4 separate regions of the Homo sapiens genome follow, and all the other regions are linked to region 2. Evidence: promoter capture Hi-C in 16 types of primary human blood cells and fetal thymus (Javierre and others, 2016). All regions are on one chromosome and are shown on one strand. Each heading gives the region's core, a stretch centred on a gene start or on the middle of the fragment in contact. The rest is flanking DNA. Distances are from core to core; before and after follow the strand shown.

The links. The method cuts DNA at HindIII sites, captures the fragments that hold promoters and counts their contacts. A CHiCAGO score of 5 or more calls a contact.
Region 1: a contact is called between a fragment that was not itself captured here and the fragment with the promoter of CH25H in region 2, in 16 of 17 cell types (M2 macrophages, megakaryocytes, M1 macrophages and 13 more). The highest score is 16.3, in M2 macrophages.
Region 3: a contact is called between a fragment that was not itself captured here and the fragment with the promoter of CH25H in region 2, in 3 of 17 cell types (naive CD4 T cells, total CD8 T cells and activated CD4 T cells). The highest score is 6.6, in naive CD4 T cells.
Region 4: a fragment that was not itself captured here is called in contact with the fragment with the promoter of CH25H in region 2 in 5 of 17 cell types (M2 macrophages, M1 macrophages, M0 macrophages and 2 more); the score reaches 8.7 in M2 macrophages.

What each region holds. Positions count from the first base shown.
Region 1 is chr10:89,048,368-89,051,931 of GRCh38, forward strand. No RefSeq gene overlaps it. Among named protein-coding and RNA genes, the nearest start is that of MIR4679-1, 13 kb to the right of the region's middle. The HindIII fragment of the contact is 1,302 bases long and covers 1,250-2,551 here.
Region 2 is chr10:89,205,518-89,208,683 of GRCh38, forward strand. It overlaps CH25H (cholesterol 25-hydroxylase), which reads right to left and starts at 1,800. Exons shown (of 1, transcript NM_003956.4): 1 at 112-1,800. The coding sequence starts at 1,775. The coding sequence ends at 957. RefSeq lists an enhancer at 1,572-1,641. The HindIII fragment of the contact is 3,745 bases long and covers 1-1,893 here.
Region 3 is chr10:88,961,156-88,964,738 of GRCh38, forward strand. It overlaps a transcript of ACTA2 not described here and a transcript of FAS not described here. Among named protein-coding and RNA genes, the nearest start is that of ACTA2, 10 kb to the left of the region's middle. The HindIII fragment of the contact is 484 bases long and covers 2,084-2,567 here.
Region 4 is chr10:89,064,542-89,067,919 of GRCh38, forward strand. No RefSeq gene overlaps it. Among named protein-coding and RNA genes, the nearest start is that of MIR4679-2, 2.8 kb to the left of the region's middle. The HindIII fragment of the contact is 1,371 bases long and covers 1,312-2,682 here.

The DNA of each region.
Region 1 (3,564 bases), core at 651-3,150, 160 kb before region 2:
TGTTCTCTGTTATGTATCATAACAGTATGCACTCATGAATAGGATTAGTGCTCTTAATAAAAGAAACTCCAGAGAGCTCTCTCACCCCCCTTGCACCATGTGAGGGTGCAAAGAGAAGATGGTCATCTATGTACCAGAAAGCTGGTCTTCACCAAACACTGAATCTGCTGGCCCCTTGATCTTGAACTTCCCAGCCTCTAGAACTGTAAGAGACAAATTTCTATTGTTTGAAAGCCATCTAACTTATGTTACTTTGTTATAGCAGCCCGAACAAAGACAATAACTTCAATTCCACCTGAAAGTAGTGTCAATTCATCTTATCAGGTAATGTCATGTTAATAGTATTACTCTGGTTTTCTTTACACAAATAGTTTTTCATCCCTGGGAAATTAATAATAAAAGGTAAACCAAACTTGTAGATTTACAATTTATGTGCTAGGTTTAAGAATAAGTGACCAGCCTGGCCAATATGGTTAAACCCTGTCTCTACTAAAAAATACAAAAATTAACCAGGCATGGTGGTGCTCACCTGTACTCCCAGCTACTCAGGAGGCTGAGGCAGGAGAATTGCTTGAACCTAGGAGGCAGAGGTTGCAGTGAGCCGAGATCGTGCCACTGCAGTCCAGCCTTGGCGACAGAGTAAGACTCTGTCAAAAAAAAAAAAAAAAAAAAAAAAAAATAAAGGAGAATAAGTTTTGGATAGTCTCCCAATATTTGAATTTAAAATGTTTGTAGTGTTTAAGAGATTGTGACATATAAAGCTTGCAATTCCTAATAAACTATGTGATTAATTTTAGAGTTTTGGAATTAAGCTGAATGTTATAAAATAATTTGCCAAAATAAATAAACTGTATTGTGTGCTTAAGGTATTTGAGATTAACTATATTTGTAAGTTAATTTATTAAGTGTATGATTAAGTATTTAGGAAAAACTTGATAGGGCTCCAAATTTTAAAGTATTTAAAAAGAAAATTGAATGTAATTAGGAATGCATTTAAAATATTTAAATAATTTAATTTACTAAATTTGTAAATAGTCTAATTTTTAAAAATTGAGGTAATTGAACACTTATCAAAGCCTCTTCCAGAAGTAATAGTTCTGATTTGTAAAACATTGACTCAATACATAAGTTTATAAGATTGACAAAAGACATAAAACCTTGAAAAAACCTAGGTTTTAAAATTTCTACTGTAATAAATGAATATTAATTTAAAACCCAGGTAGCTTCAAATAGTTTATTTAAACTTGAAAGCTTTCCTCAGAAGACAAAAACTGGAGATCAGAAACTCAATTTCCATTTTTAAAAGTATAGGAATTTCAAGTCAGAAACCATTACAATTAGAATTAACGTTCTTTTATTTATGGGGACAAGAAAAGAATAGTCTGAGAGATTTTGCAAAGACTCAAAAAATACAATAGCCGTATACACTTTTTAGGAAAAAAAAAGGTTCAAACGTAAACTTTTAATGGCAAAGAGATTTATTAAAATTAAAATATCAGGAATAAAAATGCGAATGTACATATTCCTTACAGGTCTTCATCTTTACCATCAATTTAAAACTAAAAATTCCAGACCCTGCTAGTAAGATTCTAGAGTTTGGGGGCCAGTGCTTGGCTGTGTAGTGTCTTACTTAGTTTTCCTCTTCTGCTTTATTCTCAGTACTGAGAAATGTGTTTTCTGGAAACTCATTCTTCATTCGATTAGTTGGTTGGAATCTCTTGCCATTTTTTGAGTAAAAATCATAATCATCCTACCGGTAATATTCTATTAAGTAGCTGTACATCAACAATGGCTTAGCTCTTTATACTTTTAGGTATTGGTCTGTATGAATTACAAAGAAGGGATGTATGATAACCATTTTAATTGCCAAGTAATTTGCAAAATTATTTTTTTAATAAAATGTTATACTAAGTGATTTGAATCATTGATCACATCTTACAAAAAAACACTTACAAAACACACAAAAACTTCCATTCTAAGAGTTTATCCTTGTGCCTTGAATAAAGTAGGAAGTTAAGATTTACAGCCTCAGGAAAATTAAAATGACAATTACAATACAAAATTCTAAGAAATAGGAACTTATTAAAATTGTGTGCTTAAGAGAAAAGAAAAATATATATATTTCTCTTTTTCTTTTTTTTCTTTTTTTTTTTTGAGACGGAGTTTCACTCTTGTTGCCCAAGCTGGAGTGCAATGGCACAATCTCGGCTCACTGCAACCTCCGTCTGCCGGATTCAAGCGATTCTCCTGCCTCAGCCTCCCGAGTACTGGGATTACAGGCGCGCATCACCATGCCCAGCTAATTTTTTGTACTTTTAGTAGAAACGGGGTTTCACCATGTTAGCCAGGCTGGTCTTGAACTCCTGACCTCAGGTGATCCACCAGCCTCAGCCTCCCAAAGTGCTGGGATTACATGCCTCAGCCACCGCGCCCAGCCTATTTCTCTTTTTAATTAGGAAGAAATCAATAAATAATTCAGAGACAAATATTCTCTTTCATCAACATATTTTCCATACTGTGTTCCTTTGAGGACCAAAGAATGTGTTAAGTAAGCTTAATATGTTAAAATGTTCATACTGAGTTATGTGCTGTATATGACTTTAGCTTTTTATGCATTTTGTATTATTAAATCTATCTCTCATAGCATGTATTACTTTTATAATTTGAATAAATTGACATTTAAAAATGAATATATACAACAGTCTGAATGTCATATAAGATAGCATACTTATATAAAAATATATGCCCTGCAGGAACTAACTAAAAGAGCTGCCAATGGCTAAAGCTGGAACAATTTGAGCAACAAAATAACATAGTATTGGATTATAACCTAAAGTAGAAAATAAACATCCACAAGTCCACACTGATAGAAACAGATAATTGAATAAATTAATAAATAGGGGAAAAGAGACAAATTCTCCATGCAGAAAAATTCCAAATAATTGATGTAGACACTCCCCACTCCTTAGGCATGGGCTGTGCAGGGTGACTTCCCTTGCAAAGAGATGAGAGTCAGTGGGGGTGGGGGGAAGTAACTTTACAATGGAAGAACTGAACAAACACTATCACATCCAGGTAATTGAGGCCAACATCAAAGCCATTAAGCGTGTTGATAGTATGAACCCTAGATATGATGTGGTGAGAATGGCACTTTACCTATGTGATCGTCCTTCCAAGACCCATAAACCCAGTATAATCAAGGGAAAACATTAGACAAATCCCAGTTGAGAGACATTCTACAATATACCTGACATGCAGTCCTCAAAACTCTCAAAGTCATTAAAAACAAGGAAACTGTCATAGCCAAGAAGAGCCTTAGAAGACATAACAACAAAATATAATCCAGTATCCAGGTGGGATCCTGGAACAGAATAAGACAAATGCTCCCTATTCCTGAGACCAACTCTAAATCCTGTTAATATTTAAATATGTAAATTCATGTTGATGCTGGGTGCAGGATGTTACTGTGAGGAGTGTTCCTGCTGCCAAGAACTTGGGAGTACAATAACTTGGGAAGAGTTTGTGTCTATTTTGAAAAATTTAATTGTAATACAATACTATATA
Region 2 (3,166 bases), core at 550-3,049:
GCACATCTATCAGCCACTCTAGTGTATACTATTGACTCACCAGTTTTGCAAAGCAAGGCACGCCTCCAATTCTGTTCTTCCCCTAATCCATTCCCACAAATAATAAAATGATTGACTGCTCAGCGTTAATCTTTCTATGAAACTTTACAGAGTAATCCTATCATTTGCCTGTTATACAGAAATCAGCTGAAAAGCATTAAGAATATTAGCGTGTTTTTCCTCCATGAAATTGCTAGAGCACAACAAACAGAGCCCCTTCTCCTGCCTCCTTTTCTCTAACAACCCCCAACAGAACACCCTACACCCAGATTCCTCTCTTTCCATGGTGAGGCTGATGGAGGCTTAGAAGGACACTTGGTATGCCCGCTCCCTCTTCCCTTTTTTATCAGTCAAAATACCAGTGAAACGGAAGTCAATACTTATTTGATTCATGGTTTTTTTTCCTTTTTAAAGCACGAATAACATTTCTTTCAAAATAAATATACAGTTCTATAAAAAAATATAAGAAGGTACTATAATTCTTGGTCACTGTCCAGCAGAAACATGTTTGATTGCTTTTAGAGTCAGAAGTCAACACCATCCACAAAAATACATTCTTTTAGCCAGGTTTTAGAACACTTTGAAACATAGAAAATTCCTTATTCTACAAACAAGTCCTTTTAGAGATATTCTAAATATGCCAGTGATGAATGTCTAATTCATATGCAGGATTCAAGGCTATTGAGGTGAGCTAGACTAAGAATACCAAGAACACAAAATTGTATTGATACACAAACAGTATGTAAATTACTTTGTCAGATTACAAAAATGCATCAGATTTTATCTATGGTTTTCATAGATAAACATAAAGCAATAAGTTAGTTGCTTTAAAAAAATATATAGCTCAGGTGTTTCTCTTCATTCAAGTGTGAAAGGCACAGCAGTCCCGAGTCTTAGGGGCACCCACCGCAGCCACATCACCGCGCTGGGACAGATGCAGTCCGCAGCGTTCCCAGTATTTTGTCCCAGTGTGTAAAGTACGGAGCGAAGTTGCAGTTAAAGTGAGAGTGATGCAGGTCGTGGTGCACCACACCCCCGTACCACCCGAAGGGCACCAGTCTGTGAGTGGACCAAGGGAAGTTGTAGCCGGAGTGGTCCTCCACGGAAAGCCAGATGTTGACCACGTGGAAGGTCAGGGTGGTGAGCGGGTGGCACCCGAGCAGTGTGACGTTCATCATGTCGAAGAAGCCCAAAGAAAACAGTTCCCAGACGCTCATATACTGCGTTGCCAGCGCGAACGAGGACGAGTTCTGGTGGTGCACCTTGTGGAAGGTGCGGTACAGCCAGGGCACCTTGTGGTGCAGCAGGTGCCACACGAAGAACTCCATGTCGAAGAGTAGCAGGCAGAACAGGATGTGGTGCAGCAGCAGGAGCAGCTCGGGAGCTTCGTGGGGCAGGAGGGCCGGGCTGCGGGCCCAATGCAGCAGCGTCACGGGGAACACAAACATCACATGCTGGTAGAGGGTCTGCCCCAGGCAAGGTAGCAGCTGCTGCGCGGATGGCGAGAAGTCAGGGTGGATCTTGTAGCGCCGCAGGGCGGGCACCCAGGAGCACAGGATATCCAGGACCACGAAGGGCAGGCAAAAGCCCACGTATGTGGTGATGGAGAAGATGACCGGGAAGAAGGGCGACTGTAGGAGGGCCTCCCAGCTCCTCAGGTGGTCCCAGAGGGGCTGCAGGAACAGCTGCCCGGAGCTGCAAAGGACCTGGGGGTCGGAGCAGTTGTGGCAGCTCATTGCGAGGCTGTGCAAGGCAGCTGAGGCTGCTGCTCGAGTCCCATCGACTTTTCACAGGACTCACGGCCCCGCCCCGAGTGATGTCAGCTGCCTTTCCATCCCTTTCCCGGCGATGCGAAGCTTGAATAAGCTAGCAACCCGGCAGAGTGGCCCTTCATTGCTGTAAATGTGCTCATCTATAGCCGCATCTTACCGGCTTTTAGATATGCGTGTATGCAGTGGCACTTCGTACTTTTCATGTAAGTTCTGATTTTTCAGTTGACGTACAATTAACACGGGACACAATGTACAGATCTACCGTGTGGAGTTTCTATGAGTTTGGCAACTCAGTTCACGTGTGTCATCACGGGTCTCAAACTAGACCGTTTACATTGCCACCAGAAAGCGCTCCTTTGCAATCAATGCAGAATTGTTTGTGTTTTTTAATGCATACGTATAACTGCATCCATGTGCTTTCATAAAGACGCAAGCATAATCGCATTTTAAAAACTGTTTAAAGCTACATGCGGTCTGTAGCTCGGGTGTTTTCTGAGAACCCGGTTGCGGTCTATCCAGCGGCGATCGAGAAACGAGCCCTTTGCACAGGGAACCGCTGGTCCCCGAACGCCGGCGGTGACCGTCAGCTCAGGAAATCAGACGGGAAGGGTGGCCGGATGGGAACCTCCGCCAGCTCCAGCTTGTCCCCAGAGTTTTCCTGGCCGGCGGGCAGCAAGCTAGAGAGACCACGCACGCAGGCTCTCCGGGAGAGGCCGCAGCCCGGCCGCGTAGCTACCCTCGGCGGCGCGTCCCGGGGCGCCGGGCCCGCGATCGGAGCCGGAGGCACCGCACAGCGGAAAGAGGGCTCCGCGGCGGCCAGGCTCAGCTTTGCCGGGAAAATGCTGGATTTAACTCCCAGTCTGCGCCAATCTGGCTAAAAAGCCCGTTGTATCTCAATTTGGGGCGGGAACACTTAATTCAGCAAACCACCTGCGTTGTTCGTCAAGGGAAAGAGATGTGAGTTCCTGAAGCCTCCCGGGAGGCTATTGAAGGACCAGGTGATGTCGTCACTACCCTACCCTTCCCCTTGTTGGCTTTGCGGGGCCAACTTGCAGTCGCCCTCTGCCACCGGTCCTTGAATCCACTCCGGGCCCACGGAGCCCGGCTAGGGGGCTAGTCTCTATCCCCTGCGTTTCTCCGCCACCCATCTGGGGTCCTCGGGCCAGGGGCCACCGAGCACAAGGAGGTCGGTACTAGGAGAGCTCTTGAGAGACCCTGGGAACAGCACAAAAATCCTCGCGTTCAACCCGGGGTCTGACACATGACACGATACAAGGGCCCCTTAGGGGATAGACGTTTTAGACACCAGCTTTGAAGCCAGGGAGCACTCCTAATTCTTGCTTAGTGTCTTGTAT
Region 3 (3,583 bases), core at 1,076-3,575, 240 kb before region 2:
AAAATATAAGTAGCACTCATGGGTTATGTCTACAGAGAAATAGATTTCCTTCACCTTCACCTAGAAACATAAGTTAAAGTTTCTAACAACCTAGCAACACAGAGGACAGATTGCCTTATGGGATAGTGAGTGTTTTGTCCATTGAATTAAGTAAGTGGATGCAAGATGACCTCAGGGCTATTATAGAAAAGGTTTGTGTACTATGTAGAAAATGTGAAGAGACTTTTAAGTATCCTTTAATTCTTTCACTTTCCATCCTCTTGATATAGTATGAGTGACACCTTGCCAACTGTCTGGGATGTCACTGCTCATCTCTGTTTCTTCATCAGTGTCAGCTGTTACACATATGCAATGTGCACTTAGAAGAGTGTGATGCTTTTCTTAAACTGGCTGATTTATACACATCAGAGGAAGACATAACTTAGGCAAGAATAGCCACAGAGTAAGAGAGAGACCCTCAGTGTAGAGATCCACAGTCCTGACTTTGCCATCAAGATGCTATTATGAAAGAGGACAAGATCTTTACATCTCTGAATCTCAATAATCTTTCCTAAAATGAAGACTTTGTGCTAATTCACCTCTCAGTTTTCTTCTAGTTCTGACATTCTATGCAGTCTTCCCTTTGTCCTTATTCTCTGATGGTGTTTGCTAGGTTTCAATGAAAAGGTACTAGGCTTTATTATTCAGTGAAAATCACAAACCTTAGTGTTTACTGATGGTGCCTTAGAAAATATAAATGACAGGATTATAATGGCTGCATTGATTTGCCTTTCTACTTCTTAACTTCTTAACTTCTCTGTGTGCACACCCTTTATATGATATTTTTGCCATGCATCAGTAATCTATATTCCAAAATCTAAGACAAGTTTTGCAAATTCAGATGCCTATTGGGGCAAGGATGACTGAAAAGGCCAAGTGGTACTTCTGATAAACAGAGGACCTAGGTCTCCTGCAAGGGATTGGCCACCACTCAGCCCCATCTGTTGTTGTAATGCTAGTTCAGAGTTGCCAGATCTTCCACTTTTTATGAGAAGGTAGAAATTGTAACCTTTGTGCAAAAATCCCTTCATTTAAAATGATGGCAATTAACTAACATTTTTAAAAAAGGACAACAGGCTAAATCAATGTTTGCTGTGGGTCTTCAGTTTGTAAATTCTGATCTACAAACAATAACCAATCCAATCACAGCTCCAGTGCTTCCTGACAACCCAACCTACAGTATTTCAATAGGTAATTAAATAATAAGAAAACAAAAGTATGAAATGTCATCAAGGATTAGTGGTTTAAAAAAAGAGGAGATAGTCTCAGTTAGGATATTTCAGACAGGCATCTGCCTGCCTTACTTTGTTATCAGCTTCTTAGATGTGGTTCTGTAAGTTTTGCTTAGGAAGGAAGTAGTAACAAAAGCTCTTGGCTAATTGTCTTTGGTGACAAATACCACAGATGGTGTTATATCCCAAGTGTATGAACGTAAGAGTGTCACACACTATTTCAGTGTCTAAAATAAAAAGAAATGACCATTTTATCAGCACGTGATTACCATGATGTGGAATAAACTTCATAAGTGTATTACTCTGTTCTCATGCTGCTAATAAAGACATAACCTGAGACTGGGTAACTTATAAAGGAAAGAGGTTTAATGGACTCACAGTTCCACATGGCTGAGGAGGCCTCACAATCATGGTGGAAGGTGAAGGAAGAGCAAAGGGACTTCTTAAATGGCAGCAGGCAAGAGAGTGAGTGCAGGGGAATGCCCCATATATATATATATATATATATATATATATATATATATATATATATATATATATATATATATATAATATTTTTTTTTTTGCAAAAAGGCACATGGATGAAGCTGGAACGCCCCTTTATGAAACCATCAGATCTCATGAGACTTATTCACTGTCACGAGAACAGCACAGAAAAGACCCACCCCCATGATTCAATTACCTCCCACCAGGTCACTTCCATGACATGGGGATTATGGGAGCTACAATTCAAGATGAGACTTGGGTGGGGACACAGCCAAACCATATCAGTAAGAAAATCAGAAAATTTCCAGGATGCCAATTTTCTGGGAAGCTTTTGAGCAGCATAGGTTTGGAGCAAATGCCTACTAATGTCTTAGTGTAAATTTATTTCCAGAGATTCTCAGAGGGGAATGGAACTTACATTTATTTAATGCCTACCATGTCCCCAAGTATAGTACTTATTACATAGATAATAAGATGAATAAAGTAGTTTATTTCTTACTCGTCAGGAGTAAGTCTGACTTACTAGGAAAGGGATGACTAGAATCTCATGAGAATTTTAAATTTTTTACACTCACCTTATTTTATTTAGTCAAGACATTTTTTGTCCCTCTCCTAGAGGTCACTCTGGGAAGTTCAGCAGTTTCAGCAATGCTTACCAATGCTCAGATCTCTGGACCTATTTAAACCAATAGCAAATACTTTTGGATCACTGTAGTGTTGGCACGTCTCTGTCCCTGGAGGGTGAATTTGATTTTTGTCTGCAGCCAAATGCCATTCTCATTGGAGGCTAGTGAAGAAGGTGAGTTGACAAGCTTGGGCATTACCATTTTGGGTCAAAAAAGAAGTAGGTTCTGGAGTAATCAAACTAATATCCGTGTTTGGCTTGTAAAGAACCAGGATGGGATGTACAGTCTTTGTTTAGCTATACATTCCGGCAGGTTTTCTTAAACTTGTCTTTTTTTCTGCATGTCCACACTTTATTACAATGCTACAGTTTCTAATCCTCTTTTAGCTAGACTAAAAGGCTCTTTCCTACTTTGGCGTCTAATTTTGTATTCCTAGTTTTCCTAACAGGCCCTACCTAAGTTTAGTTCTATATTAGTTTACTTTACTTTGGTTTAGTTTCATATGTTTTTATATTTTTTTATTTTATTCTATAATTTGTGTATTTTGTTATATATTTTAGTTTACTTTAGTTTCATATATTTACTTTAGTTTAATATATTTTAGTTTAGTTTCACATATTTTGCATTGTATGGGAGGAAAAAAGAATTCTCTCTCTATTCTTCCGAATTCTTATCTGGAACCCCTGCAAAAAAAGGCAGATGAAAAAGAAAAAAGCGAACAGAAGTTTATTAACAAATAGGCTTCACGTATATATGGGAGATACCCAGGGAATGAGCAATTCTCAAAGAAGTGGCTTAGAACTCTGGTTTATGTGGCATCATCAACAAAGAACAACACATTGGTGGGGAAGTAACAAGACAAGGGGAAAGGATCTTGAGTTTCTAGGGGTGGCAAATTGTGGGAAAACAAATACATGGGAAACTAATGATAGACAAAAGGTTATATAGTAAAGTCTGTTATGTAGATTTCCCTGTGCCATCTTCAGGCAAGCAAGGGCCTAAGGTCATCCCTGGTGATCAACCTTTGTCCTTCTTGGTAGAGAGGGAAGGAGGGACACCTTTATAAGTGTATGTCCTGCTTTTAAGCAAATAGGGGTAGGGCAGAGAGATTTTTTGTATCTACTTCTCGATTGCTTTCAACCCAAAATAATCCTTATGCCAGAGAGGCATATTTTGGGGTGGCATATTCAGCTACCCTTC
Region 4 (3,378 bases), core at 747-3,246, 140 kb before region 2:
GTTTTAAAGGGAAAGGCATAAAGAATAAAATGTCAGTCACCCCAACATTTTTTTTTTACTTTTGTGTGTGTGTGTGTGTGCTTTTTCTTCCCTAATAGGAGGAGAGTTGAGATCACTACTCTTTTCTCTTGTTATTGTCTCTGGGGTCTAGTTTTTCCTTCTACAGGCCAATCTTTAATAAATATTTTTCTTCTCACAATGTCACTCGAAGAACCCAAACACTAATTCTTTTAAATGACAATGATTATCCTTTTATGCAACATCAATTCTCCAAGCTACTCGGGGGCTTCCCAGAGAAGATGTTGAAGCTGCCAACTCAACTCTTATTGAGTGGAGTCACTGTGAATTCTTTCCTGGAACCAAAGTGCGTCTTTTCCAAACTCTGTTTACAAAATTCAATTTCTTCACTCTTCAGTTCCAATACAGCTACTGACAAAGAAAAACGAGCACATTCTTTAGCAATTCCAAGGTCAAGATCATGGGACAAAAGGGCTCTGTGGTTTGTTTCTTCTTACCAATATCTTGTGCAGATGAAAAAGGGCTGGTAAATTTCCCTATAATAAGGTCGTCAAACTCATGTTTGATTCAGAGAAAAAAACTGTGGACTGTATTTTGTTTGCTTAGCCCTCATCCTAAGTAGAAAAGAATGGAAATGCTTAGAAAACTCTCCCTGGCAAGCTCTCCCTGTCTGCCCGTAACCTTCCTGAGCCTGTATTCCTTTCTCCATACCTGCTTCTCCTGGCCTCACATCTGCTGATTTATGAGCATAGGATGATGCCTTGGTGACAACAGGATATGGCTCCCTGCCTCCTAGATTTCTCTGCAATGACATTTTCTAGAAGAAGACAGTCTGTGAAGTTTACCTAGCACGATATTTTAAAAGTCCTAGATTTAGAGTCAGAATTCTAGCTGGATAAATCAACCTCGATAGCTATAGTTTCCTTATCTATATAATGGTGTTAAATATCCACATCACACAATTGAAATAAAAATTAAATTGAAAAATATAAAATATCCAGAATGGTGCTTTGTGCAAAGGAAGTTCTCTATTAATGATGGCTGAATTTGAATTCCTAAGAGAAATGGCATCTTGAACATTGATCATGTATTATTTGCAAAACTTTAAGAGAAGAGGCAATGCAAATTATCCACAAATATGTCTGTTTTCTTTCTCCAAAAGAATTGAATATATTACAATATTAGTAAACTAAACACAAATTATTTTGTCAAAATAGATGCAGACTTCCAAGCTGTATAGTTAGTAACACTATCACTGGAAAACTCACATTTTTCCCCAAAGAAACCCCTACAAGCTTTGAAATTCCAAATTCAACTATCCAGAAAATTAATATAAAGGTCAATATGGGACAGTCTTTCTAGTTGAAAATACTATTGATTTTTTTTCCACTCAACCATTTTTGAAATCTGAAAAATAGGTTAACTATATTTTAAACATTCACTTTGGTCTATCTGGTTCTTTATGGTTAAAAGTTATGGGATCTGGCCAGGCTTTTCTCTGGAATCAAGGATCATTGTCTGAGAAAGATCAAAACCACTCACTGTCTTGAGAGACTGACAGTTTGCCCTCTTCACTGAGCCTCTGCAGGGAAAACTGCATACATGTACTTTAAAAGCATTCTATTGAAGTACAACATACCTGCAGAAAAGTATGTACATCCTAAGTGTTCAGCACAACAAATTTTCACAAACTAATCACATTTACATAACCAGAAGCCAAATAAAAAATCAGGATAACAACAGGATCTCAGAAACCCCCCCAGGCTCCCTCCAGCCCTGCCCATCCAGGGGTAACCTAGCAGCATAGAGGAGTTCCACTAGTTTTTGTGTTATATAAAATGGCTCATACAGTATGTACTCTTTTTTGGTCTGGCTTTTTTCGCTCAACACCATGTCTGTGAGACTCCTCCATATTTTTGCATGTGTCTGTAGATCAGTGTAATATTTCATTGTGTGGATATATCACATTTGTTCACCTATCATGCTGATGGGTATTGGGGATTGCCCCCCACACCCAGTTTTTGACTTTTACAACTAATGCTGCAATAAGCATTTCAGTGATTGTATTTTGAGGAGCATATTGCATGTTATTTTTTTGGTTATATACCTAAAAGTGGAATTGCCAGATCAAAAAATAAGGATGCCTTTAGCTTTAGTAGATAATAAATACTAACTGTACAAAGTGGCTATTTCAAATTATACTCAACTGAAGTATGTGAGAATTCTGATTTATCCACATATTCATTAATCCTTACTATTATCAGTCTTTTTAAATATTAGCCATTCTTGTTTGTGTATAGTGATATTATATAGAAATCTCATGTGTATTTATTTTCAAATACACTTATTTGAAGGAAGAAAAAAGTGATATATCATCCTGATCCTGAAGAAGTGCAATCAGAGAAGGAATTTTTAGAATCAATAACCAAACTCCCACAGAGATGAACTACCAACATATTCACAGAGACATTTGAGCACAGCACAGCTGTGTAATATTATCCAGCTTCCTAATTTGTCCAGTCTAACAAGTAAGGTGACAGTTGATTTTTTTTAATTTGACTATTAGACTACTTATCTAGTAGTCTATTATTGTTTTTCTTGTTGATTTGCAGGAGCTTCTTGTATTTTCCAGATATTAATCCCTTACAAGTTTTAAATACCAAAAGCTTCTTATAAGCAGCCATACTTATGAATTATTTACAGTACTCATTTAATATATCTAAATTTGTGTTGTGTCCAAAATCCTTTTTCATTCTATTTCACTTATACCTTCCCGTTTTATTATTGATCAGTCTTGCAAATAAATAAGAATGCTATTTATAAAAGGATAAATGTAGTGAACCAAAGTCCTATAAATGTATCATTTCTTCTCAAAATAATTTCCAAGTTTAATACAATCAATTGAAAATATCACTAGATGATTTTTTAGAAACCTGGTACAATGATTTCAAAGTTCATCTGTATGAATAAAGATAATGGAGTAGTTAGGAAAAAAATTGAAAAATTAAAACAGTGAGAATTGACCTCACAGGTATTAAAATGCATTTGAAACTACCAAAAGAAAGAAAGAAACAGAGAATGGCATTGATTCATGACAGAACAGGAAGACCAGGATAGCAATTAAAATAATTGGAGTATATGTACTCACATACACATTAAAGGAAAATCACACAACAGCAAGAAAAGTGTAAATTATTAAATAAATGAGATTGAAAGGCAGTATAGCAAAGTGCACCATGGACTCTGGAGCCCACCTGCCTAACTCCAAATCTGGGCTCATCTATTTACTCCCATTTTTTTTTACCTAAGATAAGTCACTTAACCTCTCTGTGTCACTGTTTCCTCATTCGCAAAGTGAAG